Linked DNA regions of Homo sapiens: regions 1, 2, 3, 4, 5 and 6 are each linked to region 7. Evidence: promoter capture Hi-C in 16 types of primary human blood cells and fetal thymus (Javierre and others, 2016). All regions are on one chromosome and are shown on one strand. Each heading gives the region's core, a stretch centred on a gene start or on the middle of the fragment in contact. The rest is flanking DNA. Distances are from core to core; before and after follow the strand shown. Region 1 overlaps MCTP1 (multiple C2 and transmembrane domain containing 1). Region 2 overlaps MCTP1 (multiple C2 and transmembrane domain containing 1). Region 3 overlaps MCTP1 (multiple C2 and transmembrane domain containing 1). Region 4 overlaps MCTP1 (multiple C2 and transmembrane domain containing 1). Region 5 overlaps MCTP1 (multiple C2 and transmembrane domain containing 1). Region 6 overlaps MCTP1 (multiple C2 and transmembrane domain containing 1). Region 7 holds the start of NR2F1-AS1 (NR2F1 regulatory antisense RNA 1).

The links. The method cuts DNA at HindIII sites, captures the fragments that hold promoters and counts their contacts. A CHiCAGO score of 5 or more calls a contact.
Region 1: a contact is called between a fragment that was not itself captured here and the fragment with the promoter of NR2F1-AS1 in region 7, in 1 of 17 cell types (fetal thymus). The highest score is 9.1, in fetal thymus.
Region 2: a contact is called between a fragment that was not itself captured here and the fragment with the promoter of NR2F1-AS1 in region 7, in 1 of 17 cell types (fetal thymus). The highest score is 5.6, in fetal thymus.
Region 3: a contact is called between a fragment that was not itself captured here and the fragment with the promoter of NR2F1-AS1 in region 7, in 2 of 17 cell types (fetal thymus and total CD8 T cells). The highest score is 9.4, in fetal thymus.
Region 4: a contact is called between a fragment that was not itself captured here and the fragment with the promoter of NR2F1-AS1 in region 7, in 1 of 17 cell types (fetal thymus). The highest score is 8.3, in fetal thymus.
Region 5: a contact is called between a fragment that was not itself captured here and the fragment with the promoter of NR2F1-AS1 in region 7, in 1 of 17 cell types (fetal thymus). The highest score is 10.8, in fetal thymus.
Region 6: a contact is called between a fragment that was not itself captured here and the fragment with the promoter of NR2F1-AS1 in region 7, in 1 of 17 cell types (fetal thymus). The highest score is 5.8, in fetal thymus.

What each region holds. Positions count from the first base shown.
Region 1 is chr5:94,889,799-94,894,016 of GRCh38, forward strand. All of the region lies in intron 11 of MCTP1 (multiple C2 and transmembrane domain containing 1), which reads right to left. Among named protein-coding and RNA genes, the nearest start is that of MCTP1-AS1, 87 kb to the right of the region's middle. The HindIII fragment of the contact is 2,825 bases long and covers 1,231-4,055 here.
Region 2 is chr5:94,811,387-94,815,507 of GRCh38, forward strand. All of the region lies in intron 17 of MCTP1 (multiple C2 and transmembrane domain containing 1), which reads right to left. Among named protein-coding and RNA genes, the nearest start is that of MCTP1-AS1, 170 kb to the right of the region's middle. The HindIII fragment of the contact is 2,981 bases long and covers 928-3,908 here.
Region 3 is chr5:94,790,518-94,794,577 of GRCh38, forward strand. The region is part of intron 18 of MCTP1 (multiple C2 and transmembrane domain containing 1); the gene reads right to left. Among named protein-coding and RNA genes, the nearest start is that of SLF1, 170 kb to the left of the region's middle. RefSeq lists enhancers at 2,723-3,922, 3,194-3,413. The HindIII fragment of the contact is 2,731 bases long and covers 44-2,774 here.
Region 4 is chr5:94,769,719-94,773,652 of GRCh38, forward strand. All of the region lies in intron 19 of MCTP1 (multiple C2 and transmembrane domain containing 1), which reads right to left. Among named protein-coding and RNA genes, the nearest start is that of SLF1, 150 kb to the left of the region's middle. The HindIII fragment of the contact is 481 bases long and covers 1,357-1,837 here.
Region 5 is chr5:94,840,245-94,844,128 of GRCh38, forward strand. The region is part of intron 17 of MCTP1 (multiple C2 and transmembrane domain containing 1); the gene reads right to left. Among named protein-coding and RNA genes, the nearest start is that of MCTP1-AS1, 140 kb to the right of the region's middle. The HindIII fragment of the contact is 753 bases long and covers 2,062-2,814 here.
Region 6 is chr5:94,860,905-94,865,038 of GRCh38, forward strand. The region is part of intron 17 of MCTP1 (multiple C2 and transmembrane domain containing 1); the gene reads right to left. Among named protein-coding and RNA genes, the nearest start is that of MCTP1-AS1, 120 kb to the right of the region's middle. The HindIII fragment of the contact is 1,199 bases long and covers 991-2,189 here.
Region 7 is chr5:93,579,914-93,583,687 of GRCh38, forward strand. NR2F1-AS1 (NR2F1 regulatory antisense RNA 1) reads right to left here and starts at 1,306. Exons shown (of 8, transcript NR_186187.1): 1 at 1,229-1,306. It overlaps NR2F1 (nuclear receptor subfamily 2 group F member 1), which reads left to right and starts at 3,309. Exons shown (of 3, transcript NM_005654.6): 1 at 3,309-3,774. RefSeq lists an enhancer at 1,482-1,581 and a silencer at 1,702-1,751. The HindIII fragment of the contact is 7,751 bases long and covers 1-3,774 here.

The sequences.
Region 1 (4,218 bases), core at 1,393-3,892, 1.3 Mb after region 7:
ATTGTTGCTATATAAGTAGATTTTCTGAAAGAATAAAAAAAACACATTTAATCCCATAAATAATTATCAATAAATGTTGAACAATAAATTATGGAATAGATATGTCTGCTTCCTTTTTCAATCTCCTCTAGCCAGCAAACCACTCCAAGAAAAATTTTCATCTGTAGATATAATGGTTTGGAGATTAGTGGCTTTTTTAAAATTTATTTTTATTTTTATTTTTTTAGAGACAGGGTCTAACTCAGGTTGGAGTGCAGTAGCATGATAATAGCTTACTGTAACTTCCAAATCCTGGGCTCAAGCATTCCTTCCACCTCAGCCTCCTGAGTGGCTAGAACTACCGGCATGTGCAACCATACTTGGTTAACTTAAAAAAAAATTAAAATTCTGTAGAAAAATGTCCTGTTATGTTACCCAGGATAGTCTCTGATTCCTGGCCTCAAGTGATCCTCCAGCCTTGGCTCCCAAAGTGTTGGGATTACAGGCATGAACCACCACTTTCAGCCTAATTATCAATATTAAATCTCACATTGTTGGATATATAACACTCTTCAGACTTTGGGGATAAGAAGATCAACATTAAACTAATTATTTTTTTCTACTATTTTCCTCTTGGTGAGTTTTGGAAATTGCATGGGTTAGATGAGGATTAAATTACCTAAAGACTATTTTCTAGTATTTATTTCAAAAGACTACTGTAGTTCTACATAAGTAAAAGACATACACAATCTTTTACAGTCAATCAAATTGATGACTAAAAATAAATTCAAAAGTGGAAATTTTTCTTAAATTTACAGTTTTATTTGCTATTTTAGTATGCACAGAAGTATTGAAACTTCAATAGAAAAAACAGATCCAAATGATAAAATCTATTTCACTTCATAAATTAATAATGGTGGTGTTTTATAAGTGTAGCACTTGAAGGAATTAAAAGAGGGAAACCAATACAATAATTCAGAAGTCTAATTAATGGGCACAAATACTTTGAGAGTAAAATGAACCAACAGAATGCTAATATGCATTTGTTTATTTACACTTCATAGCATTTTTCTTATGACACGATCAGCACTTCTACTCTGTAAATCAAAGGTACTTCTTTTTCATAATTTATAAAATGTTTCATAACCAGAGAACGTAACATACTTTTGCATTATAAAGTTATTAAAATGTTACTAGAGTAAAAAGCATTCCCATCATCATATTAATAATGTGAGAATACTGACAAGCAAAAGCTTACTGCAATATGAACTTTATCAGTCCCGTATGACCAGTAATTGTTTACACTGAAACTATGACCTTCGTATATTGAGAGGAGGAAATGCGGATACATGAGTAATCTCATAGCCTAACTTTTTATAAGAGTGTTTAGCATGAGGATTAACTGTTAATCTTTTATTGTTTTTAAACAGTTGTTTATCACCAAAAATCTATTTAAAATACCCAGGTGACAAGGTTCAGTAAAAATGCACTTCTCTCTCCATTTAAATTCCTGTAAATGAAGGGTTTCACTGTGGGGGCGTTAGACAACAGAATATAATTCAGAGGTTTGTGGGCACGTTGTGTTCCTACAGTAACAGCAAGTTTGGAAAGTTTCTTATCTCAGAGCTTACACAATGTTGTAAATCAGGTAAGTCTTCGACCCTAATGATGGGGAATAGTTTTATCAAAAAAAGGTTTCCGTGCTTTAATTTTCAGAGGCAATTTAAATCAAGTTCTATTTTGACTAAGACGAATATAATCAGTCCTTATGTCTGAGAATCCTTTCACATTGGTAGCCTCATTCCACAGACATATTGTCTTCAGGTGCTTCGGCTCTGATCCTCTGCTTCCCATTTGGAGTGGTAATTATTGTTTGAAGGTTTCATTTCCCCAAGTCAGCTGACACTCCATAATTTATTGCAAATTTCAACGGTTTAGGCCAGTGACACATCGATTATAATAAGAAGTAAAAATAAATAAATAAATAAATAAATAAATAAATAAATAAATATATTGGTTTAAAAACATAACTTCATCAAGAGGTATTCATCAAGAGGTATTCCTGCCTTGCTATTTACGGTTATTTTAGAAGGCCTAAAAACCCGGATGGCTTCTGAAGCCAGAAATTTCCATAGCAGAGGAATCTATGATTTGCTGTGAATCCTTTCAGCCCTCAATAGATGGGAAAAGATTGAAATGCTCTGGAGAGGAGTCCTCTTTATTTTTTTAATGAAAGGCTGTATAATATATTTTCTCTATGGCTGCAGCAGCTGTCAGGGAGAGCATCTCAGTTCAGCTCTATTACGGGAGAGGCAATACCCCATCCTATGGCATCGAGATGCTCTGAGGGGCCAGAGCTGATTGACAGCTTGTCACCGTGACGTCTTATTCCATCTCTGTTATGGAGAAAATTAATGTCACACCACCAGCCTTATGACTCGCTGTCATCTTAGAACCGCTCACCTTTTATCAATGCTCTAAATAACATTTCAAGCCCATCGTCTCACGGTGGACAATCCGGTCAAGGGACATTAAATCAGATGACTGTGAAATGTCATAATAAAAATGGAATGCTAACAACTTCTTCTCTAAACTAGCTCCTCTGGTTTTTAAACTGTGACAAGGGGGAGCAAGGGTTCAGCATACCCGTTCTGAAAAGGTCATACAATTGCTCTTGGTCTACTACCCATTACTACCCGCCCCCTATTGACCTTCCCTCATTTCCTCCCCCTAAAAGAGGAAAAAAGAAAAATGGAATTAGCCATCTTCTCAGAATGTGGTGATCAAAAAATGGCTCACAGAGCGATGTTTGTTTAATTTGTGGGGCTTCAATCCTTAGCAATGAACAGCTAAACAACAGCAATGGAGGGCTTTTTTTAGGGCTGTTTCATATCAGAGTGGGGGCAATTTATTTGCTTCCCTGACAGTGACCAATGTCAAATTCCTAAATTTGACCTCAACTTTTAAAAATACACATGTTCTTGCAGGAAAATATAGAAATAATTCTCCAAACAACCTCCATTATATGTTTCTCCAAAACAAATGATATTTCAGAAATGATATGGCATTCATTCATTCATTTCATGATCCTTATAATAAAAGGGAAACACACTGAAATCCTAATCCATAGGTCTTTGTCCTTTTATGGATATGAGTAAATATAACAGATGTGCTATGTTGCATATAGTGGTTTCGTAGCAGGTATGTCTCTAGAGGGAGGTATAGGCCTCTGCCTGAAATTCAAGGCTGAAAAAAAGTATATTTAAACATAGTTCATTTTTGAATATATTGAGCAGAATACAATCTGAGAATTAAGTCAAACATCCGCATAATATTTTACATTTTATTGAAAAAAGACATGGAAACAAATATTCAAATTCTGAATGGAAATGGCCAATTGCCATTCAGCCATCCAGCAAAAAGAAAAAAAATTAATAATAGGTGGATTACTTCTAATTACTTAGGCAGCAGTATCCCTTAATATACGGGATAATATCAAAATATTAATCCATCAACTATAGTATAATGCCTAGAAGAATTTTTATATTAATATACTGATTAATTCCATTAAAATTGTTGTAATTCATGAGGCTCACTTCTGGTAACAGAAGAATATATTTTGGTGGATACCACAGTGTAAAATAATCTTCATAACTGCAATTATATATTAGAAGATGTCACACAATATCTTAGGCTCTTAGGTGGTTTAAAAATATATACTATTTAGCCTTGCTAAGTCACCTCTATTAAACTGTTTATGATAACACCATTGGTGGATGAGTTGTACAAGCATTAGCAGACAGCTGATTCAGTGGAGATAGCCAGAATAAATTTGCTGAAGCGCACATCCTGCTAATCTGTTTGAAGAATATTGTAGAGCATTAGTACCAGCACTTCATGTTATCTGCACAGACTGATAAGGTACATCTTTATTAAATTCAGTTATTGAAAGGATGTCAGTCAGCAAATAGGAATATTTTAAAGTCTAAAAAAAAAGTGGTTCTTTGTTAGAGCTTGGTTTCATGGCTGAGTGTCTAGAGGAGCCTTCTAAACACCTGGCGGCACTGTACAATACAAGCTTTGTCATTTTAAGTGGAAAAGCTTTTTTCCCAGCTTCATGGGTACTAAGGCATTTACTTTTTCAAACCTTCATTGAGAGAGAATGGTGGAGTAAGAGCTCCCCTCTCTGTTGATTCAAGAAAACTACATGGTGGGAAATGTCCAGCGGGAGGATGCTGG
Region 2 (4,121 bases), core at 1,168-3,667, 1.2 Mb after region 7:
TTATCAGAGAACACTAGTTTAGACAGCAAGCAAGCCGAACTCCAACTGTTCAAACAGCCTGACTTTTACAGTAAAAGGAAAGGCCCTGGGCCAAGACCACTGAGATGAGCAGGTATTTTTAGTTCACTTGTAGGCCAGCTCTAATGTAATTCTGAAATGTTTTCTTCAAACCAAACCCGACTTTTTCAGGGCTGTCCAAATCTGTTTTCTTTTATAGCAAGTACAAATTCTTGGAGCAAGGGAAGCATGCGTATCATTTGCAATGCTGCTGCATGTCTATGGTGTTGATGCCCGATGGCTCAAATTAGTCCGCAAAACAGATGAGCGCATTGTAATTAGCTCTTGTCAAACTGTTAGAAATACAAAAACCAATTCCACTGTAATAAAAATTATGAAAAAGAAAAATCTCTCCTATCATTTTCAGCCAAAATAGTTCCTGAAATGTCTGTAGTTTAGGATTCCAGAGTTCTAAAAGAAGGCCATTTCATTTTCAGAAAAGCTTTCACTTCATTGACATGGAGATGCCGAGATGTATTATCTTTCAGGCATTTTTCTCATTGTAGCTGATTGCCCATAAAGCCCTGTTTCTAAAAATGACCTGTCAGGAGTGGACATATTTTGTTGAGCCACACGGTACTGATGTACAATTCTCAAGAAACATTTATACTTCTTTGAGTACTGTTTTAAAGAAAATTTTCTGAAGTTTTTAAAATCAATGATTTACTGTGATCAATTTTCCAGAATAATTGAATATTGCATTCTATTTAAACAAAAGGGGATATTAAGCAGGCATTAATCGTAGGTTCAGATGTGATGTCACACTCTCACATGATGATCCTCAGTTTCTTGTTCACAATTTACTTGAATATTCATTGTTGGGACACTGACTCTAAAGACTACTTTGCTCAATCTTTTAAATTATTCACAAGCTTCAGGAAGGTTTCAGATCTCTCTGAAATTTAATGTCCTCTCAAGGAAAAATGTGAGCTATTGGTAGATGGCTATTGTAAAAAGCAAGTGTAAACATGAACCAAAAGGTGGTGCTGTTTGTGATTAGGTCAGGGATACGAAAAAAAAAAAAAACCCAAAAAACTAAAACTAAAACAAAACAAAAAAAAAACCCTTCTACATGTCTTCTGAACTTTTCCAAAGATAAATTCAGGTGTATTTGTGGGAATGAGCACAATAACGTAAAATGAAACTATCTTTAAAAGTAATAAAATTACTATATACAGAAAATTCAGGTGAACACCTGTAGTCTTAGCTACTTAGGAGGCTGAGGTAGGTGATCGCTTAGCCCAGGAGTTCAAAACTGCAGTGCACTGTGATTGAGCCTGTGAATAGCCATAGCACTCCAGCCTGAGCAACACAGTGAGACCTTGCCTCTTAAAAAAAAAAAAAGGTGATACAAAATGGATCATAGAACTAAAACCATAAAACCTCTAGGAGAAAATATTTGTGGCCTTGGGGTAAGCAAGGTATTTATTCACAGACACAACACCAAAAGCATTCTCTCTCTCTCTCTCTCTCTCTCTCTCTGTATAAATGTCTGTGTGTGTGCGTGCGTGTATATATAATGTATATTTAAAAATTTGGCCTCATTAAAGTTAAAAACATTTGTGCTCCAAAAGACACCATTAAGAAAATGAAAAGATAAGCCACACATCGAGAGAAAATAATTGCAAATAATATATCTGATTAAGGACTTGTATTCAGAGTATGTAGAGTACTTAATACGAAGACAAAAACCCCGTTTAAACAATGGGAAAAAGATTTAAGTAGACATTTCACCAAATAAAACATCTGAATGTCAAATAAGCACATGAAAAGATGTTCAAAATCATTAGTTACTAGGGAAACGTAAATTAAACCACAATGGGATACCACTTCACACCCACTAGAGTGGCTGTAATCAGGACAGAAAGCACTAAATGTTGGTGAAGACACAGAGAAACCAGAACCCTCGTATGTCATTGGTAGGAATGTAAAATGGTAAGCCTACTTTGGAAAACAGATTGTTAGTTTCTTAAAAATGTAAACATACATTTACCACATTAACCAATAATTCTACTCCTATCAAAGAAAAATGAAAACATATGCCTACATAAAGATACATACACGGATGTGCATTGCAGCATTATTCATGTTATTCCCTAAATAGAAACAATCCAAATGTTTATCATCTAGTAAATTGATAATCAAAATGTGCTATATCCAAGGAATACTATTCAGTAATAAAAAGAAGATACCTGTAATCCCAGTACTTTGGATGGTGGATCACTTGAGTCCAGGAGTTTAAGACCAGCCTGGGCAACATAGTGAGACCTTGTCTCTACAACAAAATTTTAAAAATTAGCTGGGAGGGGTGGCGCACACCTGTCACTTGAGTTTGGAGGTCAAGTCTGCAGTGAGCCATAATTATATCACTGCATTCCAGCCTGGGCAACAGAGCAAGATCCTGTCTCAAAAAATTAAAATAAAAGAAGACACTACTGACACATTCTACATCATGAACTCAAAATCACCACACTAAGTGAAAGAAGTCAGATGTAAAGGACATAGTGTATGATTCCATTTATATGAAAAGTTCAAAAAACGCAAATCCCTAGAGACAGAAAACACATTAGTGGTTTCCAGGAGCTGGAGGTGGGAATGGAGAGGACTGTATCAGTCATGAAGGATCCTCTGAGGTGATGGTTGTACAACTCTGGAAATTTACTAAAAACCAGTGAATTCTGTACTCAAAATGGGTGAATGTTATGACATATAAATTATATTTCAGTAAAACAAAATTTCACCTGTTCTTTATATTTCATTTAAAATAAAAAGTGCTAAAAATAAATACACAATACACAAATAAATAAATAAAAAGTGCTAAACTTTTGTGGGGGTAAATTCCAATACAAATAACTGAGAGAAACTAGGCTGAGAAAGTTAATGGTAAGGAACCTTGGGTGTATCTTGCCAACACTTCCAAAATATTTTAAAATGCTAGTCGATGACACTATCCACATGATGATTCTTTGGACAGTTGGTCCTCATTTGAGTTCAGAGAAGTTTCACTAAAGCCACTATAAAATAGCTAAAGCAAATATCAACATCAATCTTTGCTAATTATAACTGGAAAAGCAGGGTCCTAGAGGCAGGTGATGGAAAGTGGCAATATAATGCTACCACCATAAGGTGAGGCTATCACGCAACTATAATAGTTCTAAATTCCTATGAAAAATATAATCAGTTAAAATTTTTTGAACTCCTTACTTTCTAAATAAGAAATGGCTGAGAATATGAAAAAAATGCCAAGGAAAACTCAGTGAGAGAAGACATGGAAAGAAATAGAAAAGGACAGCTTAGCCCAACATGCAGAAAGAAAAAAAAAAGTTAAAAGAAAACAAAAACAAACCTTGGCACAGGAGAATGAGGATAGTGTATTCAAAGTCATCTTCTCTGCCCTGAAGAAAGCACTACTGGATAAATATGACAATGTTTCCTTATTTTGTAATCTTGGGTGAGGAACTCTTTTAATTTGGGCCTAGAGTCTTAGGTTTTCATTTGCATTCCTCAGTGATGTCTGTCGCCAAGTTACCTATAGTACCACCTATCAGGAAATAAAACTCCTTAGCCCCACATTCGTCTACGGGAAATACAGCAGGAATACATGTTATGAGGGATTTGTTTTATTTTTCCGGTCAGCAACAGTCAGTGCCTCCCTTAGGTTGGTTGGGTTTGTTTTTCTCAATATATTACATCAAGAAAATAGAAACGAAAACTGCTGAACACAGCAGGACAAGTGAAATACACCTGAAAACCACTTCCAACTGTTTTTATGCCAGCACTTCCAAAATTCTAGGATAACCCCATATCTTCCTATACTGCTACAAAACATTTCTTAATATTTTTCATGATAAAGCTTAATACATGTGTTTGTTAGCTAAGTTATATAATATCAAGCATGGAAAAGCAGGTGGGCCCTGGCAGATTTCCCCTTCTTTCTACAGCCAATTTCTCTATCTATCAATTGCTGCAATCTAAACTGCCTCCCTGTTCTACTGTCAGCTTTTCTGGAGCTATTCTATCTCCCAGGGAGACAGGTGTGGCTTTGTTCTCTAAGTGCATGACAC
Region 3 (4,060 bases), core at 159-2,658, 1.2 Mb after region 7:
GAAGCAAGTGGGCTGCAGCATAAACAACCACACAGAGAGGGTAAGCTTTAACTAGCCAAAGGGGACGGGTACTGCTAGGTTTCAAATAACTCATGTCGGGCCTTAAAATGGATGCCTAAGCAGCAACTATATGAAACAAATTTATGACAGACGTGGGAACTCAGAGGTGTGGGCTCACTTAACCTCTTAAGAGTATGAGTTGGTAGGGTCAGACTGGTAGTAGGGGGTGAGTGTCAGGGATGGTGCTCCAGAAGAAATAATAATGATAATTAGTGGTTACCCAGGCACAGCTGTATAAAATGTTAAAGGCTTAATGGGTGGCAAATTAATATTAACTACCAAAAACCTTCAAAATGCATATACTCTCACCCAGAAATTCTTCAAGGACTTTCCAAAGCATATTACCAGAAAGGGACCCAAAAATTTCTTTAGGATTTTCTTTATAGTATTGAGAAGGCAAAATATTTCAAGCGGGCCAGGCGCGGTGCCTCGCGCCTGTAATCCCAGCACTTTGGGAGGCCGAGGCAGGCAGATCACTTGGGGTCAGGAGTTCCAGACCAGCCTAGCCAATACGGCGAAATCCCGTCTCTACTACAAAAAAAAAAAAAAAAAAAAAGAAAAAAATACAAAAATTAGCCGGGTGCAGTGGCAGGTGCCTGTAATCCCAGCTACTAGAAGGCTGAGGCAGGAGAATCACTTGAACCTGGGAGGTGGGAGTTGCAGTGAGCCGAGATCACACCACTGCACTCCAGCCTGGGTGACAGAGTGAGACTCTGTTTCAAAAAAAAAAAATTGAAGGAAACATTTCTAAAAACAGTGTTTAATTAAGAAGACTGGTGCAGTGGCTCGCACCTGTTGTCCCAGCTAGGCAGGAGGCTGAGGTGAGAAAACTGATTGAGTCTAGGAGTTCGAGGCTGCAGTGAGCTATGATGGCACCACTGCACTCCAGCCTGGGTGACAGAGGGAGACCCTGTTTCTAAAATACACACACACACACACACTCATATAGTGAAAATTGTATAGAAATTAAAACTCGTGGTGGGCTGTTTTCCAGGAATATGAAGGATATTTCCAGATATGTTGCAGAATAAAAAAAGTAGGTGAGCTAAAATGCGTTAAAGGTGATTCAATTTTTATAAAAAACAAAATATGTGTGATAAGAAATATACATTTACATTTGTAAGTATATTTTAAAGAAAACAGTAGAAGGCATAGAAAGAGTATATAGAATATTTGGGAAACTACAAGTATACTCTGCTCCAGATACTCCTGTGACCACTGGGGCTACCCCACCCTGGTCCTCCTCTCCAGACCCACTATCTTTGAAGGTCTTCTTTTCCCAGGGTGAAAGGCCCCTCTTCCAGCACCTTTCTCAGGTGGGTCATAGCCCTCATGGCTGGACAGCCACTTCCTCATCGACGCCAACCGGCTTGCCTACAAGTCTGCTGTGCCAGTGGAGGAGCCCCGAAGACCATCCCAGGATGATGCACCCCATAAGAGTACAGCCTTGCAGGGGCTACAGCCACCCACAGTGCACCTGTGTCTTTGCCAGCCCCCTGCAGCTGCATAGACACCATGCATCACACTCAGACCTCAAACTCTTCATGTGCGGCACCTTGGGCAAGGATTTCAAGCTCTTCCACCACGCTGCACATCTGTCCTCAGTGCTCACGTGACTTCCAGGCCTCTGCCAAGTTCCAGACCCTGCCTGCACTGCCCTTCTCCAGGCCACCACATCTATCCCATGCTGTGCCATTCCCACACACGCTCTGTGAGTACTGGCTTTGCGGATATTACTGCCTTATTCTGGGCCTGAGTTTCTCCATCTGTCCAAAGGCAGAAGCATCACTCCTTTTTCCTCTTTTCCAGTTGTGTCATGAAGACAAAAGGGGTTGCCTTCCCTGAGCCTGTGGACTGGGTGAATAGGAGTTAAAGCAGGGAACACAGGCCTGTGAGCCAGCTGTGCTTCCCATCCAGCTGTGCTGTGCTAGCTTTTGCAAGTGGCTTGGTTTCCTGCTCTCCCAAGTGGCGAGCAATTGCTGTCCAGAAGAAAGTGATAACAAAAGAGTATGGCCATGGTCTGGTTCATTTCTGTTTCCTCACCCTTAGCCCACTACTCCCACCTTTTGCTCAATAAACACTGCATACTCCAAAACAAACAAAAGCAAAACAACAACAACAACAACATACACATAAACAATCCTGTTGGAATATTGGAGGGATGAAGCTGAAACTATGGTTTAAGTGGGGCCTGCTCCTTATGGGTCTTCTATGCTTGAAGATGTTGGGGAATACCTTTATTTCAGAACTGTCACCTTCCTACAGGTCTGGAGGTAAGAATAAAGGTACAACTGGGATAGAGTTACCAGATGAATATAGAACATCCACTTAAACTGGAATTTCAGACAAATTAAGAATATTATAAAAACATATAAGTGTAAGTATGTCCTGTTGTTATCTGAAATTTCCATTGAATTGGGCATCTGTGTTTTCATTTGCTCAATCTGGCAACCCTAACTTGGGTAATTCATAGGGCTCAGGGCTGGAATTTGAGGGAAATTTGCAAAGTGGAAGGCCTGGTCATCTACTGAGAGGGAGGGGACAGTGGTGGGGGGACTTGGGATGAGTGAAGAAAATGTAGAAATCTTGTTGGTGCAAATCCAAAGCCTGATGACGATGGTTATTAACATGTTGGGATGCACTATGTACAGCAAGTGATTATCTAACAAGGCTAAACAGTTGGTGAACAGCTTTGAGAGGGGTCACAAGGGATAAGCTTTCTACCAACATCTGATTGGCTGTTGATTCTACTTATTTATCCTAGTGATCGTGTTGGAAAACTAAAGGTCTGGTTCTTTTCATGGTCCTCCTCAGATTTTTTCAAGCTGATGACCTTTTGAAAAAAACTGAGAAAACTGCTGTTGAAATAAGCACGAAGAAGAAAAGAGTGATCATCCATTTTTAGATGTGTTTACAGGCTGTATGACTCAGTGTTGCTTCTGCTAAGAGCACTGAATATGTGGTCTTTTTTGGTACTGAGATGCAAACACAGGAAACTTGTGGTCTATGCTGCTTTCAGTGAATGATAAAACTCTTACTGAAGTAGAGAGAGTCTAACTGTATGTTCAGAGTGCTTTGCATATGACGTCCTCTCCTCTGTCAGCTTGGCTTTGGCCAGCCTCTTTAGATCCTGTTAGGAATACTTGACTTATTCAGTATTCCACATATTCCACCACAGACTTCTTTGGAATGGAGAACACTGGCTGACAAAATAATAAATGTGCTTGATTTATAGGAGTTCAAGTCAATCAGATGTTTCTTTGGTGGACCATCCCAAACTGTTCAATCAACAGCACTTATGGCACAGAGTGCTGCTCTTAGGAGCTTTATTTGTAGAGATAAGTGCTCTGGTTCTCACTGGAACAGACCTAATGGGAGACAATATTCAGTACTATTCTAAAAGGGAAATGAAGAAACAAATGCTTTGTCATGAGAAGGAGCTAACTAAACACTTCAGTATTTCCTAAAGTATTTTAGCAAGGCAGACTCTGTCTCAATTTGTGTCACAGTCATATCATGAGTCAGAGAATGATTTCATTGATCTGCCCCACTCTTCAGTCTTTTAATGCCACCATTGATTAGATAACTGAGATTGTTGTGTGGGAGGAATATCATGACAGTAAAAATGAATGTTCTTTTAAAGTGTACTTAAAAAACATTGAAGAATTTTTTTGTGTCAAAGAAATTTTTGAATTTATTCACAAAAAAATTATTCACGAATATGAAGAAGTCAGCTTTGATGGACTCTTCCCATGCTCACCTTGGTGAATGGAAGGTAGCCCTCCTGGTCACGAATGCTTCTGAAATTAACAGGGGCACCTGGGATAGAACAGATGACCAGCACCAATTCATGCAAGGTTACTGGTTACCTTACAGGAAGGAATTTGGAGACACCCAGGATTCTATGCAAGGCCCTGGACACTAAGAAAGCAGTCCTTTGGGAAAGGAATGCCCATGCATGTAGCATAGATACAGCCTGGGACTTTACAACAGGGCACAA
Region 4 (3,934 bases), core at 347-2,846, 1.2 Mb after region 7:
TTTAAACTCTGGGACTTTACTTGATTTTGGATTTGCCCCAAGAAAAAAAGACTTGTATTGAAACTTTTAAAATAAATGAACCATATCACCAAGAAAGATAACTCAGATGCCACTGGATATAGTTCAGTGAAGCCACACATTTCTTGAAGTTGTGCCCTCACTGACATCAAATGATGTCAACTCTACAGATATTCTGACATTTCTTTAATATTTACCTTTTTGTATATAATTTAATGAAAGTAGATACCTCTATTTATATAGCCAACTCCTGTTGGCAAGTTCTTAAAATCAAAGAATTCCTACTTTGTGAATTTCTTTTAGAATCTGCAGAGTCAATGTCTTTAAAATGGTGAAGAATTTCTTTGCCAAACAAAGTTTCAGGCGGAATAAAAATCTTGGCACCCTGGGTTCAGATGGAGCATCTGTGATGCTTGGCAACACATCTGGTTCTGCTGCTTTGGTGAAGAAACATGCTTCTCATCTCAACATGCAGTGGTGTCAGCCGTGTCAACGACTCTGCCAGCGATCCTGAAAAAATCGTGTCTATTTCTATGAATGTTGTCAACCTCCCGAGAGCCAGGGCTGACACACTGCTATTTCGAGAGTTTTTGTCAAGAAAGGGGAATAGAAGAGGAAATTCACTGCTGCAATACAGAAGTTAACTAGCTTTCCAGAGGACTTGTCTTGAAACATTTGATTGACTCTTAAATGAAAGTTCTTTTTTTGAGGCAAAGAAAATCCAACTATCAGAATAACCCAAAAGGAAAGAGTCCATTCATAGTTTGCTTTACTTGATGGACATTCTTACCAAGTTAGCTATGTAAAACTTTTCATTTAAATTATTTTAGCCCAACTGCCACTTTGGAGGGAATGTTGGAGACAGATATCTACCTAAACATTCCAAGACTGGAGAGGTGCTTCTGCAAAGTGGAACAAGGTGTAACAAAGCTTGACAGGTAGAAACCCACCACCAGCCGGAATCACTAGAAAACTCTTTGAAAGCTAGTTCTGTTTCCAATGACTTTAACATAGAGGCATGAGTATGTAATTATTTTTTTAAAATATGATGAAGCATTAATGATGGAGAGTTTTCAAAAGATGATTGCAACACAATATGAATTCGACAAGGATTTTGGAGAACCCCAGGATTCCTCACCGTGCCTAATCATCACCTAATAAAGCCACAGCAGATCCCATTGTGTTACTGTTTTCTTTCGCCAAGTCAGTGTTTCCAGCACTTATTGACATGAAACTGAAAAGCCATAGTCAAATGGATATCAAAGATAACAAGCCCATTGCTGCCTCAAAACTACTCCATAATATCACAATCAAGCCAAACACCACCCTTCTTGTAGAAGCTTGCTTTGGAATTGAATGAAACATTATTTTTTACTTGTAAAATTTGTATTTATCTCAGGTGTTTGAGGAAACAGGCATTAAGTTCAAGAGAACAGTGGTGAGGGCAACAAAGATGACTTTATAAAGATACTTTATAGTCTCTGTAAAATAATTCAATTTCCATGGCAAAAAAAAAGCACATAAAAAAGTTTGTGTATTATGTGTGTGTGCATGTTTTGTGTCCTCTTCTGGGGAGAAAGTGTAAATCTTCAGATTCTCAGAGTCTGTGACTTAAATAAGACTAAAACTCCCTGTCCTTTGAAGGGTAAAACATTTTAAGGAATGGAATTAATGTTGAGAAGAAGTAAAATTCTTCAGCTGAAAAATGAAGAAAACCATGAATTTCTTCTCTATTCGCCAATTAATAATATAGACTTCTAAACCAGAAAGTATATGACTGCATTAAAAATGGGCAATAACCCACTCTCATTTTTGAACAAGCTTTTCCAAAATCAAAATTAAGAAATTTGGATAAAAATATTTGCTTTGTTAGATACTGTTTTCAGTTTTCATATTATATGAAAAATTGTGTAGCTGTATTTATATAGACCAGTGGGATGAAGTTAATAATGACAAATGAGGAACTCAGATCTAGTGCTTTAAAATACAGTATTGTTTGGAGAAGTATAGGAAATGCAGTTGGAAGTTACCTGTACTAGTTTCCTATTGCTGCTGTAACATGTTATTATAAACCTAGGTGCTTGGAAATCACAAATGTATTATCTTACCATTCCATAGGTCAGAAGTCTGAAATGAGTCTCACTGGGCTAAAAATGAAGGTGTAGGCAGGGCTGCATTTCTTGTTTGAGGCTCTAGGGGAGAATCCTTTTCCTTGCCCTTTCTAGCTTCTAGAGACATTTTCTTGGCTTGTGGCCCGCTTCCTCCATCTCCAAAGCCAGCAACAGCAGTCCCCACCCCCTACCAGTTAGTTTGTGTTTTACTGATACCGTGCACCCTGTACTTTCCCAGTGGGTACCAGCTGTTCATTCTTGGTTATTTCTTGGTCTTTAGGTCCTTCTCATACTTGATGAGCCTGTGGGGTTCAGGTACATGCTTTCTTGGGGTGCAGATATAAGGGCTTGTACTTCTTGCCCTTGTAGACCGCCCTGTGGTTCTCTTTCTGAGTCTGGTTAATGACAGTGAGAACAAGGGGGTTGGATTGTGGACCCTGTGCCACCTGTCACACTGTCAATGTGCAGCTGGGAGAGCTCTACCTTTAGGTAGTCCAGCTGTCTCAGAAGCTCTTCCTTCTTGCCATAAAGGTCCTGAGGCTTGATCTTGGCCATGGCTTCACATGCAGCTGCCAGCTGCCATCTGCTCTGATGGCCTCTCCACTTCTGATCACATTAGGCCCAATCAGACAAACCAGGACAATCTCCCTATTTTAAGGTCAGATGATTAGCACCCTTCATCCTATCTGCTACCTTAATTCCTCTTTGTCATGTAGCATGACATCTCCATAGGTTCCAGGGATTAAGTCATGGGCATTTTTGATATTATTCTGCCTACTACACACTCCCTCAGTTGAAACTGTAGGAAAGGATTGGATATGCAGGAAAATAGTGAAAAGTAGTAGAAACCTAGAAATAAACAGTCTCTAGCTGGGGTGAAAGGTATATTCCCTTATTGAACTACCCTAAAGACTTAAAGATCATGTCTGAGGTAACCTGCATCTGTACTTTGACAATACCCCTTCCCCCGGAAAACCTAGTCATAAGGAAGCGTAAGGATGCCAAATTTGGAATCAGAAAAGTTGAGTGGTAGGTCTGGCTCTTCCACTTGTCTATATCCTTTAGCAATTCACTTAAATTTGGCTGAACCACAGTCTCCTCACTTTAAATTAAGTGGGTTGAACTAGATTATTTCTTGGGTACCCTCCAGTTGTAATGTTGCTATGATTCTAGATGAAATAGATAGTATTTCTGCGGACTCAAAGTGAGTGGGCTATCAGTTCAATGGGTGTTTAAGCACCAATAGGTTCACAAAGGAGAAATGGATCCTTCCCTGATTTTTAATCTTATTATTTGCTCTTCTCCCAAGTAGGAGAAAACAAGAAGAAATAGCCCTTTCCTGTCCAAACATCCCTCACCCCAGATCAGAATAGATAATAAGCAAATGGGACATATTATACTGTGACTGTAAAATATACCTCAGTTTACACCCCTGGCATGAGATGTTCCTATAATCTTTGAAAGAATATGATTTGGGAGGCTGGTTTTCCTCATTTGTTTATTGTAGCATAGTTGGGTTATAGTATTGCAATAAATATATCCAAGGAACACAAGGACTGTTCCAATTTTGCTCTAGAGCATGGGTGGGTCTATGCGGTTTTGATAGGCAGAATTCTAAGATGGCTGCCAAGATTCGCGCCTTCCAATAGATATATCATGATAGTCTCCCTCCCCTTGAGTGTGGGAGTGGGTTTTGTAATATGATGGTGTATTAGTCTGTTCTCATGCTGTTAATAAAGACATACCCAAGACTGGGTAATTTATAAAGGAAAAAGGTTGAATTGACTCACAATTCCACATGGCTG
Region 5 (3,884 bases), core at 1,188-3,687, 1.3 Mb after region 7:
AGAAACGGTAAAGAGAAGACCTTCTTTAGGAATGCAACACTGTATTCATAGAAGAAACAGGACAAAACTGAGAAGACTGAGATATGCAGAGAGAGGAACAGAGAGACGACAAACAGCTTCTCCTTCTCTCTTTTCTCATTCCTTAGTTGCAATAGTAGGGGCCTGGGAAGATGGGTATGAGAAAGGCTTTGTTTAGATCTTCCAAGAGAAGAGTTCAGAATGTGAGAAGAGATTTTAACCGCTGTTGGGATGGCTTGATTGGGACTTTTACTCTCCTCTGCTGCTCTAGATGTTTCAAGGTTCTCACCCTTTTCATATAACACCATTTTTTTTTCTTTATGTCTAGTTTTGGGTTGGGAGAGGAAAAGATCTCACACTTAGTAATCAAAGAGCTGGATTTATCAGGGCTTACCACCTATGTGTTATTGGGCAAGTGATTCAATCTCACTGGCCTTAGTTTTCACTCCTAAAATGGAGTTCTACCATGAGACACAAGTACTCTTGTAAGAATGAAATCATATAATATTTGCAATATAGTCTAGACAACAATATCTCCTAATTTCTATAAAGGTGGTGTTGCTATCTGGAATATAAGAGATTTGTTTTGAAGCTGCATCTGGATACTAAGCAAGCTGTTTTTGCTGAGCAGCTAGGTTTATTTGAGGTGGATTTTGGGGTGGGGGGAAGGTGAGGAAGGGAAATTGTTGATGGAACATACCACCCTTAGTGGCCACTTGGCCATTTCATATAGAGCAGCTAAATACTTGGCACAGAGTAAGTACTCAATGTGGGCAGCATCTTTGACACTGGGGTGCCAAAGGAGATAGAAAAGCATAGAGCTGGCTGCTTGGCATGTGACCGAGGCTTAAAGGTGACGAGTAGGTGTGCCCTTCCCTTGTACTTCTAGGGTTGCCAGCCCAGTCCACCCAGGGAACGGAAACAGGAATAGAAAGGCATATCCCCAGGACAGAAAGGTGCCACTGAAAATAAAACAATGGTGTTGCCAAGAAAGTACTTATGTTGACAATCTCGGATACAAGGATAGCAAAGGTAACTTCAGTCACAAATTTATGGTCAATCATGAAGATTGGCATTTCGATTGGAAAAGTTCTTAGGATATAATTTTTTCCATTAAAGCCAGCTGAAAAACAAAGCTGATTTTTCTATGCTGTTGCTACTTACCATTTCATAGTGGCACAACTCCCACCCCAAACACTGTGGAATTATATTCAGAATAGATTTGTTTATCAGTTCTTCTACCCTATCCATTTTTCAGCAGCTGATTAGTCTCCCTGGGATGTAGACACATCTCTGATCAACAGCAGCTTGACTCCCATCTTCACATATGCATCCCAATATCCACATTACTCATAATAAATGTGCTTATATATACATATATAGATACATTTTTATGCATATATGTTCCCCACATTGTATTCAAAAACACATTCTGAATGGATGTATATATGCACTCATATACATTCAGGAATCCAACTAGATTCCCAGAGGGGAATGTGGAACACATTGTTAAAATGTCTGTCATCCATGTAAGAGAAACAGAAATGAGCTGGGCATTAAATTTGCATACAGCCCCGAGCACAGAGGTTCCTGTATGTGCACCGTTCTACTGTTCTTGATGATGGGCATATCTGATAGAAAGATTCTGTCAGGATTAGCTCAGGAAAAACACCCCCAAGGAGATAATTTGAAGACATCCTGAGAATTTGCCTCAGTACATGAAAATAAACATGAAACCCTTAGCACTCTCTGCACATTGAAAAGTTCCCACCAACACCCCACCACACACCAGGGGATAATCTACTGGAGCTAATTAACACACAGTCATACGCAACGCTGTTAGAAGTGGTTGCCACTTAGGATTGATTTAGTTGCTGCAGTGCTTAAAAGAGACTTGAGAAGGTTTTTGTGTAAATGTGAGAGGAAAGAAGAGGAAATAAAAGTGTAAAAACAGCTGCAAAATTAAAAGGTGCTAAGGTCTTTTTTTCCCCCTGTAGACATTAGGGAAACTTATTGAGAGACTATTAGTATTCCAGCAAAGAAAGCTTCTTACTTGATTTTATGTTTCCTTCCACATCAAAATTACACACACACATACTGGGTCTATAGATTGTGACTATGAAAAAGGGCATGTTTCACTTCATAAGCAAACAAGCTCTTCTTTAAATGCTAACATATGGATTGTGTCATCTAAAAAACAACAACAATCTTTTCTTGTCTATGTCTCATTTTATTTCATCTTTCTGATTTATTTAGATTTTCAGCAAAGTTATTAATTAGTAATATGTTTGGGGAAAAAATCATCAAGGAACAAAGGGCCACAAGCAATTCCTTCCTCTTATCTTTGCAATATGATAAAGATAGAGCAAATCCAACTATTTTAGAATGTTCTTCCTCAAAGTGAATGTGATGCATGCTATCTTATGAATAAACAATATATCTACTAATCATGACAGTAGGATATCACAACTGAGTATATAAAGTGGTTTTAGCAACCTGCTTTTTATTACTGAAACATGATAGAAATAATATAGAAAAGACCATTAGTGAAAACTTTATTAATCAGGCTTTGTGAAAATTTAGAGAAGCTGCAATTGATTTTTTGCCCTGATAAAAGGGTTTGCTAAAGAAAATTATAATAACATAAAAAGGATTTCAGGGGACAGAGTATTTGCTTTGGATGTGAAAACTCTCTTATTTTAATGATACCATTAATATTAAAAACAATGAGAAAACATTCTTGATTCCAAGTGATTCCACTTGGCTATATTATGCTTTCCATTGGATGAAAGATAAAGCTTATATATAAAAAATTCTATGAAATATATTTTTTATCAGTCTAGACTGGCCTACAAGATAAAATTTAACAAAAATTCATCGACATTGACAATTTGCTATACATACAAAGCCCTCTACCACATCCTGAGTAGAATTAACAAATGCAACCTGTTCTCCATCCTTTAAAGGCTCAAACTCAGAAGGGAAGACAGACACGTTCACAAAGAATTAGGGAATGGCAAACAAGTACAGCTTGAGAATCAACTCTGAACAACTGGTAATGGGTACATAGAGTGGTTTTTTGAGGATTACAATCGTGTGTATGTGTATAAACACATATGTTGTGATCAGTTTACAATGTCTGCCACAAGAAAGGGCATCAGAGGTGATGGGATGTAGGCGATTTGTCTGCTAACTCTGGCCTAGAAGATGGAATACATGGGTGGGATAAGAAAGGAGTGTACGTAAGACACAAGGTTAGGAAGTTAGGTTGGGGTTAGATAATAGGCTTTCCCTCAAGGTTGGTTCTAATTAGTGAGGTTTTATTTTAAACATCTTTCAAAAAAACAATGAATTGTTAACAATGTTTTGGAGGCCATTAGTTGTGTCTCTTTATAAGAATTTTAGAGTGGTTTATGTAGAAAAGAAGAGCACTAACAAAATAGTCAATACTAAAGCTAAAGACACAAAAGTTCAGAAGTGTCACATAAATGCAAGTAAGAGATTGCTTTGAACTGGACACAATAGTAGAGAAGAGTTCATGGGGTCTGGGAATTTGCAATTTGGGACCAGTGCATCTGAATAAGGAGAATTGACTGATTTATTAGGTAGAGAGAAAGGTTGTGTTTTTGCAAAAATAATGTAGTTTTTTGTTTTGTTTTTGCTATGTCTCTAAATGTTCCAGTAGATTAGCTGGAAGCAGCTGCTCAGGCTGTAGAATAGACACCAAGTACCAAAAAGGACTGTGAAAGGACACCCTTGGCCGGGTGCGGTGGCTCATGCCTGTAATCTCAACACTTTGGGAGGCAGAGGCGGATGGATCACCTGCGGTCAGGAGTTCTTGACCAGCCTGACTAACATGGTGAAAC
Region 6 (4,134 bases), core at 340-2,839, 1.3 Mb after region 7:
TTAAGATCAAATAAAGGCCACACTTTGTCTCTAAAATATTTTATTCCTGTCCTTAAAATGAGAGCTGACTTTGATTTATCAAATCCAAATATCTATTTGCACTTTGATATGCTTTCTGTCTTTCCTTGCCTCTTAGTTTTCTCTGATTTTCTCTTCGTTATTTCAGCTATTTGAGCCAATAGCTGATGACTACTCTGTTATTGATCTCTCAGTGTTACCACTTGCTGAGTGTTGGACCTCTGTCATCACGGCAAAGTACAAGATGCACCAGAGTCATCACTCACAGACCCACCTGTAGCAAAGCCTGCTGTGTCTATCCCAATTCTCACTACAATTTAAAATGTGATAAATGATGGCAAGAGAAGGGGCAAAGTAAAATGGGAACAACTTCCTTAACATTTCAGGTTAGCTTCTTGCTTGGTAAATTAACGAACACATTCATAATTGTAACGAATATCTGCACATCTAGTCAACACAGGAAAATTGGACAACAGAAAGCATTCTGCTCCTATTTCTTAATTTTTACCTGATAGAACGGGGAATGAAAACACATGGAGAGTGAACTTAATGACTAAAGCATATTAATGACTGAATCTCTGTTATAATTTACAACCCTTCAGAAGAGTTATTATTCCTACTTTACAACATTTTACTAACATAAATTATATAATTAGATCATTTATTTAAACTTTTTCCTTTGCAAAGTACTTTATTTCATAATATGTTGCAATGGAATATGGCTTGCCAATTTGCTCAGCATGTCTGTCCTTTACGATTGAAATCACAATTGCAAAGTAGAAAATCCTTCAGAAGACAAGAACATTGGTTTAGGAATCTGGGAACAGGTAGTGAGACATCTCTGATTCATTATTTAATAATTTTTTGATCCTTAGTCAACTCAGTTGTAAAATATTGACCATGTAACAATTTTTAAAGGGTCTTATAAAGGTCTGGGGGGCTGAAACTACCAGATAAGTAATGCAAGGAGGAAGCTTGAAGTGAAGTGGGGCAGCATCCATACAGCCAGGAAAAACACACCGAGGCTTTGGTGTCCTCCACCACGCCAACTTTTATTGATAGCACCATTGAGGCACATGAGAAAGCTAATTCTTAGATTCAATATGGTATCATAATTATGCTGGTGATATTTGTAATTTTTTGACTATAGCATAGCATAATAGCACTATACCTGAGAAAAAATGAAATCATTTTCTTTTCCTCAAATCACTCACAGAAGAAAAGTTTTCAAAATTATAGCATTCTACTACTTTCCACGTTACAGGACAAAGGCGGAAGAGCAGCGATCATAGGAAACATGAGTTTCCTCATTTCATGAGAAAATGACCTCTACAGGGATTAAATTCTTCTTCTTGTAAATATGAAATAAAATCTAGGAGAAATACGCCTTTCAGAGAGTAGCAGACCCTGTGGCTTATGTGATTATCTCCCTCCAAAGAGCAGAAAGCCCTTTTGCTGACATCTATTAAAATAAACAAAAAAGGGCATTGGCATCATTTAAAGAGAATGAAGCACTGATTTGAGCCAAGTGTTGCACTGTGGACTTAGCAGATACAAAAACAAAACAAAAATAACTTCACAATTAAATAGGCCCACAAACTGAACTAGAGCCTCACTCCTCAGGAAAGATTACAGAAAATATTTGGTTCTGTTATTATCTGGCTTGCTATATTTCCTAAGATTCAGGGTTGATTTTAGCCAATAGTGACCAAACCTGAAACCCAGCTCATTTGTACCTTATACTCTTTGGGGGCCTTTTATATAATTGCAGGAATTTATATGTAATGCACTATGAAAGGCAATGCTTAGGAAAACCTAATTTACAATTTTTCATGTAATTTTGGACAATGTTTGAAAAAAATTTCTTCTCCGGAGTTGAGATAAATTGGGCGAAAATGTATATTTTGAGTAGCAATTTGATGTACTAGCATGTCCAGATGAATTGGGTGCACAATCTATTTACTGAAAAGAAAATTGTGGTACGAGAAACTTCTAAGTGTCAATACTTCTTGACTCTGCAAAAGGAAGTTAGGGCAACCTTAAAAATATATATCTTTTAAATCAGTGAAATTTTATATAGGTTTTCTTCTTCCCTTACTTGCACATTTGTGAGAAAATGTTTAACGTAGCTTCTAAATCTGTATAGATTAAATTGGAAGTATTGTTTAGTAAGCTTAGTAGGTGTGTATGTCAGAGGAAACATACATGAAGAAAGATGGGCAAAAAGGCTTAGGAGTTTATATTTACAAAATTTTAGGGAAATTCATGAATATGACAGTAAGACCACCAATTGTAGATCATTTTGGCTTTGTACTTGTTTCTCTGGTTTTCAGGAGTACTTCTCTTTTGCTGTTGTGTAGAAAGTAACAAAAGTTACATCTAGAACATTTCTAACGTTTCTGCTAGCGCTAAAAAAAAATTGTAGCAATAACAACAAAAACTCTTCTATAAAAATCATTTGAAAATTGCCATAGACTTGAAGCGTAATTTCATTGCTGTGGTAGTACTATTGTCTCTTAAATTTTCAGAATAGATATTTCTGTTATAAACTTAAAGTGACCTTCAATATGTTCAATGTAATTATCCTACATTTCATTGTGCCTTAATGTGAATATTAAGACTTAAACTACAGGTGATGTAGACATGCCTTTGTTTTCACATTGATACTTCTTCTTAAGCAATTCTCCCTTTTTGATCCTTGATCACGAAAGACACTTTAGATGTCCTTACGGTTTGTAATAACTTTTTAAAAATCCATATGTTGTTTAATAGCAGCAGACTTTCTGCACGAGAAGGAAGTACATGATAAGTGTACTGTAGGAGCCTATTGTCTTTGGTCATTATTACATTCCCATTGCCTCTGCAACTCCAGTTCCTCCTCCTTTGCTGTGCTTCCTCCACTTTTTTTTTTTTAATCATTTGGCTATACAGAGCTGCCTCATGTCATTCTTTGCATACAACATCTTTGTTTTTTCTCTCTTCTGCATAATGGCCCAGCTTTCTGGGAGTAACTGTTGTCCCGAATATGATCCTTTACTAAAATAGGGATTGAATAAAGGTGGAGCACAAATTATCTGGAAGCAAAGGAAAACTAGGCATTTCAAAAGGACCCAGAAAAAAACAAATAATGAACCAGAGTGGCTTCGATGAATTGCCATAGAAGGAATTCTTGGTTTTGACACAAAAGGAACACATGAATACCAAGGAAAACCTAGGGAGAGAATCTCAGTAGGAAACCTGCCTCGTAGGCTGCTCAGGACAGAGGGCTGAAGCCAGTAGCCCTCCAGATATGAACAGAAAGAAATGTATTTTATGACTAACAGTTAAACATTCAAACATGCCGTTTTTGGAACACAAGGTACTTTGAGGAGTTGACATCCCTTCATAATTCATGTTCATTGTTCCTCTAAGTAAAATATGTATCTCCCTTTAGTTATTCTGTTAGGAATTGTACTTTAAAGGCAAGAGGACATTTTTGATAATGCACATCTTAAGATGTTTCATTAAAGTACCAAATTTAAATTCTACCTTTTTGTGCACTCTGACATTTTTGTCTGGCATTTTCATTAATTTTGCGACATACATAAATGTAGCTGAAATGTTAACTGATCAATACTTTGTCTCTCTCATGTAGCACTAGCGCTCCGTTCCCCAAGGACTACACAGCAGAACAGAAATTAAATGTGTAAAATATCAAATGTTAATGTTAAACACAGCAGCACTTACTGTATAACGACAGAAAAGGCTAAAACAATTCCAAATGGACAGATGGTACCACAAATTATCTACAATCACATTTAAAGATTAAAGTTTGTCCTGTAAAATAATTCTTTGACGCACACTGAAGTGTGTCCTTTTACTGATAGCTCAGTTGTCCAATTATTTTTGTGCTCATTACAGTGAGAAATGACAGTACTGAAAAGAAAGAGAAAATGTGCACTCTTTCTTCCCCCATGTTGCACCCACTGACATCCACAAGAACACAAATGTCTAGTCAAGAGCCTGATGAAAATTAGGCCCAATTTATGAGACATTTCCATGTCTACAATAGATGATTCCCCAAGACGAGCAGTGCCTTCTGCACCACACATGTCTGTGTTCATTCTTAGGCAGACA
Region 7 (3,774 bases), core at 56-2,555:
AGACAGGCAGCCATCGATCGCGTTACATTAGGGGATGGCGTTACAAACGGCGTCCGCAGGTGGGCGGCTGCAGCCAAGCTCGCCAGGTTCAGGCCGTAACCAGGCAAGGCGCGGGCACAAGGGCCAGCCGGGCCGGACTCTGCAGCCGGCTCCACCGCGGGTCGCGCTCGGCACCAGCAGGAACAGCCGGGCCGGTGTTAAACGTGCGGGTCCCCGTCCTCCGCCCGGGCATCCGTTTCCCGCCTAGGAGAGAGAGGGAATAGCGGGTGGGGGTGGGAGCAGCCTGTTTTGAATGTGGATTGCTGCTCGCCTGGCACGATCCTCCCCTCCAAGGAGGCGCGGCGGCCGCGATCCTCGCCTTAGCGCTACGGCGAGACAGAGGCCGAGCGAGGGCAACTCCCGAGCAGGCCCCGAAGAAAGTTCTCCTCGTCCCGCCCTGGCTGCCTAGACTCTGCTCTCGGCCTGCGGAGGCCGTGCGAGCCAAGACTGCCTCCCGGCCCTGCCCGTTACCAACCCCAAGTTCAAGAGAAACGACAACCATTATGTTACTTGCCTGGTGAGGCAGGATTTGGCCGAGTCTCGTTTCTGGTGCCCACGACGCACGGTCCAGGGTCCGAGGGCGGCTGGGCCGGCGGACTGGGCATCCAGTGTGCCTGCGGTGCCCTGGCGCTCGCTGTCGCTGGTCTCCCACTCCCTTCGTCTCTCTCCGCGTTCTCCTTCCCTCGCCCTATCTCCCTCTCTCCGCCTGCTGCCTCTGCCCTCGACTCCCTGCCTCTGACTGTATGGGGAGTACGATTTAGAATCTGTACATAGAAAGGTTTTCTTTTCTTTCTTTTCTTTTGGTCTATTTTAATCGTGTTCGTTTCACCTTTTAACTGACCAGAAGACGGGAGCGCGTTTGCGCGTTTATTTGGGCATAGGGACGAGGGCAAGGAGCCCCTGCTACCCCCAGTCGCCTCCTCGCCATCAGCTGCGTACAATGGGCCACCGCTCGCGGAGTGCATTGACAGTTCTCCATTATTCGAGCTGGAGGGGCTGTGGGGCAGGCACGGGAAAACCTTTTATTCTGCTCTTTAAAATCATCGCTCGTCACTAAGCGGTCGCCGACTCCCGACTTGTAGGCTGGAGAGACCAGGAAGCGCAAAACGTCCCCCAAACACGCAGTGCTTCCCAAACCCCTCCCTGGTGAGACTTAAAGTGAGAACGAGTATTAAAAAACAAACCCTACCTCTGTCAATACAGCGTGGCCATTTACTTCCACCTTTACCTGAGGGCGTGTTGGCGCTAGGAATGCTCGAGCTGAGACAAACTTTTACGCCCTCGCGAGTCGAGGGGCGGGCGGGCGAGCGCGGCTCCCACCCCCGGCGGCGGCAGCGGCGGCTTTGTCACTCCGCGCGGCTCCGCGCCCGCCTGAGCCTGCCTAGGGGAGCGATCTCAAAACGAGGGGGGTGCGAGTATGCGATTGGAGAATATGTAACTAATAGAAGTATCATTTTCCCCCAGTACGATCTTTCAAGGAAAAAAAAATCCATTGAAAGAATTTTCAAAGTGCTGTCTTCGTTTGGAGAAAAGGCACAGGCTGCCTGCGGGGAGGGGAGGAGGGACTCGGCTGTGTGCCGCCCGGGAGCGGCTCCCGTCCGCTAGGTGGCAGCCGGAGCCAGCGATTCCTGCAAGCCCCGCCGCGGGACCCGCTCCTCCCGCCTGCCCCTCCTCCCGCGACCAATCACCTTCAGGATTCAGGAATCGGGGTCTCGGTCTCTCTCTCTCTCTCTCTCTCTCTCTCTCTCTCTCTCTCTCTCTCTCTCTCTCTCTCTCTCTCTCCCCCTCTCCCTCTCCCTCTCCCTCTCCTCTCTCCCTCTCCCTCTCCCTCTCCCTCTCCCTCTCCCTCTCCCTCTCCCTCTCGTCTCTCTCTCTCTCTCTCTCCTCTCTCTCTCTCTCTCCTCTCTCTCTCTCTCCTCTCTCCTCTCTCTCTCGGTCTCTCTCTCTCTCTCTGGGTCTCTCTCTCTCTCTCTCTCTCTGGGTCTCTCTCTCTCTCCTCTCTCTCTGGGTCTCTCTCTCTCTCCTCTCTCTCTCTCTCCCCTCTCCTCTCTTCTCTCTCTCTCTCTCTCAATATCTCGCGCGCTCTCCTCTCTCCTCTCTTTCCTTTCCTCTCCTCTCTCTCTGTCTCTCTCTCTCCTCCTCCCCCTTTTCTCTCTCCCTCTCCGCCTCCCCCCCTCTCCATCTTCTCGTTTGTTTGCTCTTTTCCCGGGACTGACTTGGCCACACTAATCTCCCCCCACCCTGCAACAATATGGGGACTTACTACTGTTTTATTAATAATGATTGAAGCATTGTTGGAGTTTGGAACAGCCAGGTGATAAAAAAAAAAAAAAAGAAGAAGGAAAAATTGGATTGATTGGAAAGTTTATTTTTAAAATCATCTTTGGGATAAATAGGAACCCTTGATTCCGATCGAATTTGTGGCAATAGCTGCAAATTCCAGGAGTGTGCTTTGTCATCATTAAACCTTTTAAACCAAGGTATACTTTGGATTAAAAAATAGGGAGATCCTACCCTGTTTCTACTTGTTTCTAAAAAGGATATAAAATGAGCAGAATCCAGACTTGGATTGTGCTTATATGTGAGAGAAGAAAACAATCCAAATCCAGTATATTTCACAAATCATTAAAATGGTGGGGGTTTCATTCCCATTAAAAATTTTTCCAAACATTTTCAATGACACTCTCTTCACGCTCATAAAATCTAATTTTAAAAACTTTTCAGAAGAAATCAAAATAATTTCCCTCTAATTCTCCTTTTGCCCATCGCTAGGCGTTCTCCCCCTCGTCATCCCTTCCCCCTCTGGGGTGTGAGCGTAAGTGTGTGTGTGTGTATGTGTGTGTGTGTGTGACCATAGACGACCCATACTAATCAGGTCTCAGAGTAAATAGCAGCGCAGGGCGATCTCAATGTAAATTGCGCTTGTCAGAAACACACCCCCCTCCCTCACTTTCTCTCCTCCTCCCCACACCATCCCAGTCTGTAGGTAGCTAAGCGGGGGGGGGAGAAAGAAAGCAAAAGAGGAGGGGGGAGGGGCTCTCCAACCAATGGCGTGCAGGAGGCTTGGCTAACCTTAGCCTCCCATTTTCTCTCCCCCCGATTCAGGGCTCTGACCAGTCAGTCGCCTTTGATTATCAGTTGCCAGCAGCCCTTCTCTTGGCTCCTTGACACGAGCTCCATATAAGGCAGCGATCTCCATAGAAACGTGTCAGTTTCAATAGTAGTGTCAAAGTTCACTATATACAGACATTCGCGCAGATCCCCCTTTCGGAAACATTGCTCTGCGAGTCCTCCCGTTTAAACGCATTCAATTTTTGGGTCTCTCTCTCTCTCTCTCTCTCTCTTCTTCTCTTCTCTCTCTCTCTCTCTCTCCTCTCTCTCTCTCCTCTTTCTCCCCCCTCTCTCCCTCCTCTCCTCTCTCTCTCCTCTCTTCTCTGAACCTCTCTTCTCTTTCTCTTTTCTTACATATTCTACTAGTTGTTTTCCCCTTCTTCTTCTCCTTTCTCTCCTTTTTCTCCCTCCTCCTTGTCTCTTTTACTCCATTCCTGCAGAAGAGAGAGGGCTAAACTTAAAGAAAAAAAAAAGGAGGAGGAGGAGGAGGAGGCACCCCCTTCGTATTCTTCTTATCGTTATTTTATACATATATGATTTTTTTTGGAGGGAGGGTGTTGGTTGCCGGCTGAAGAGCACTTATTTAAAATACTAAAAAAAGAACATTTTTGGGCGATCTCCAGG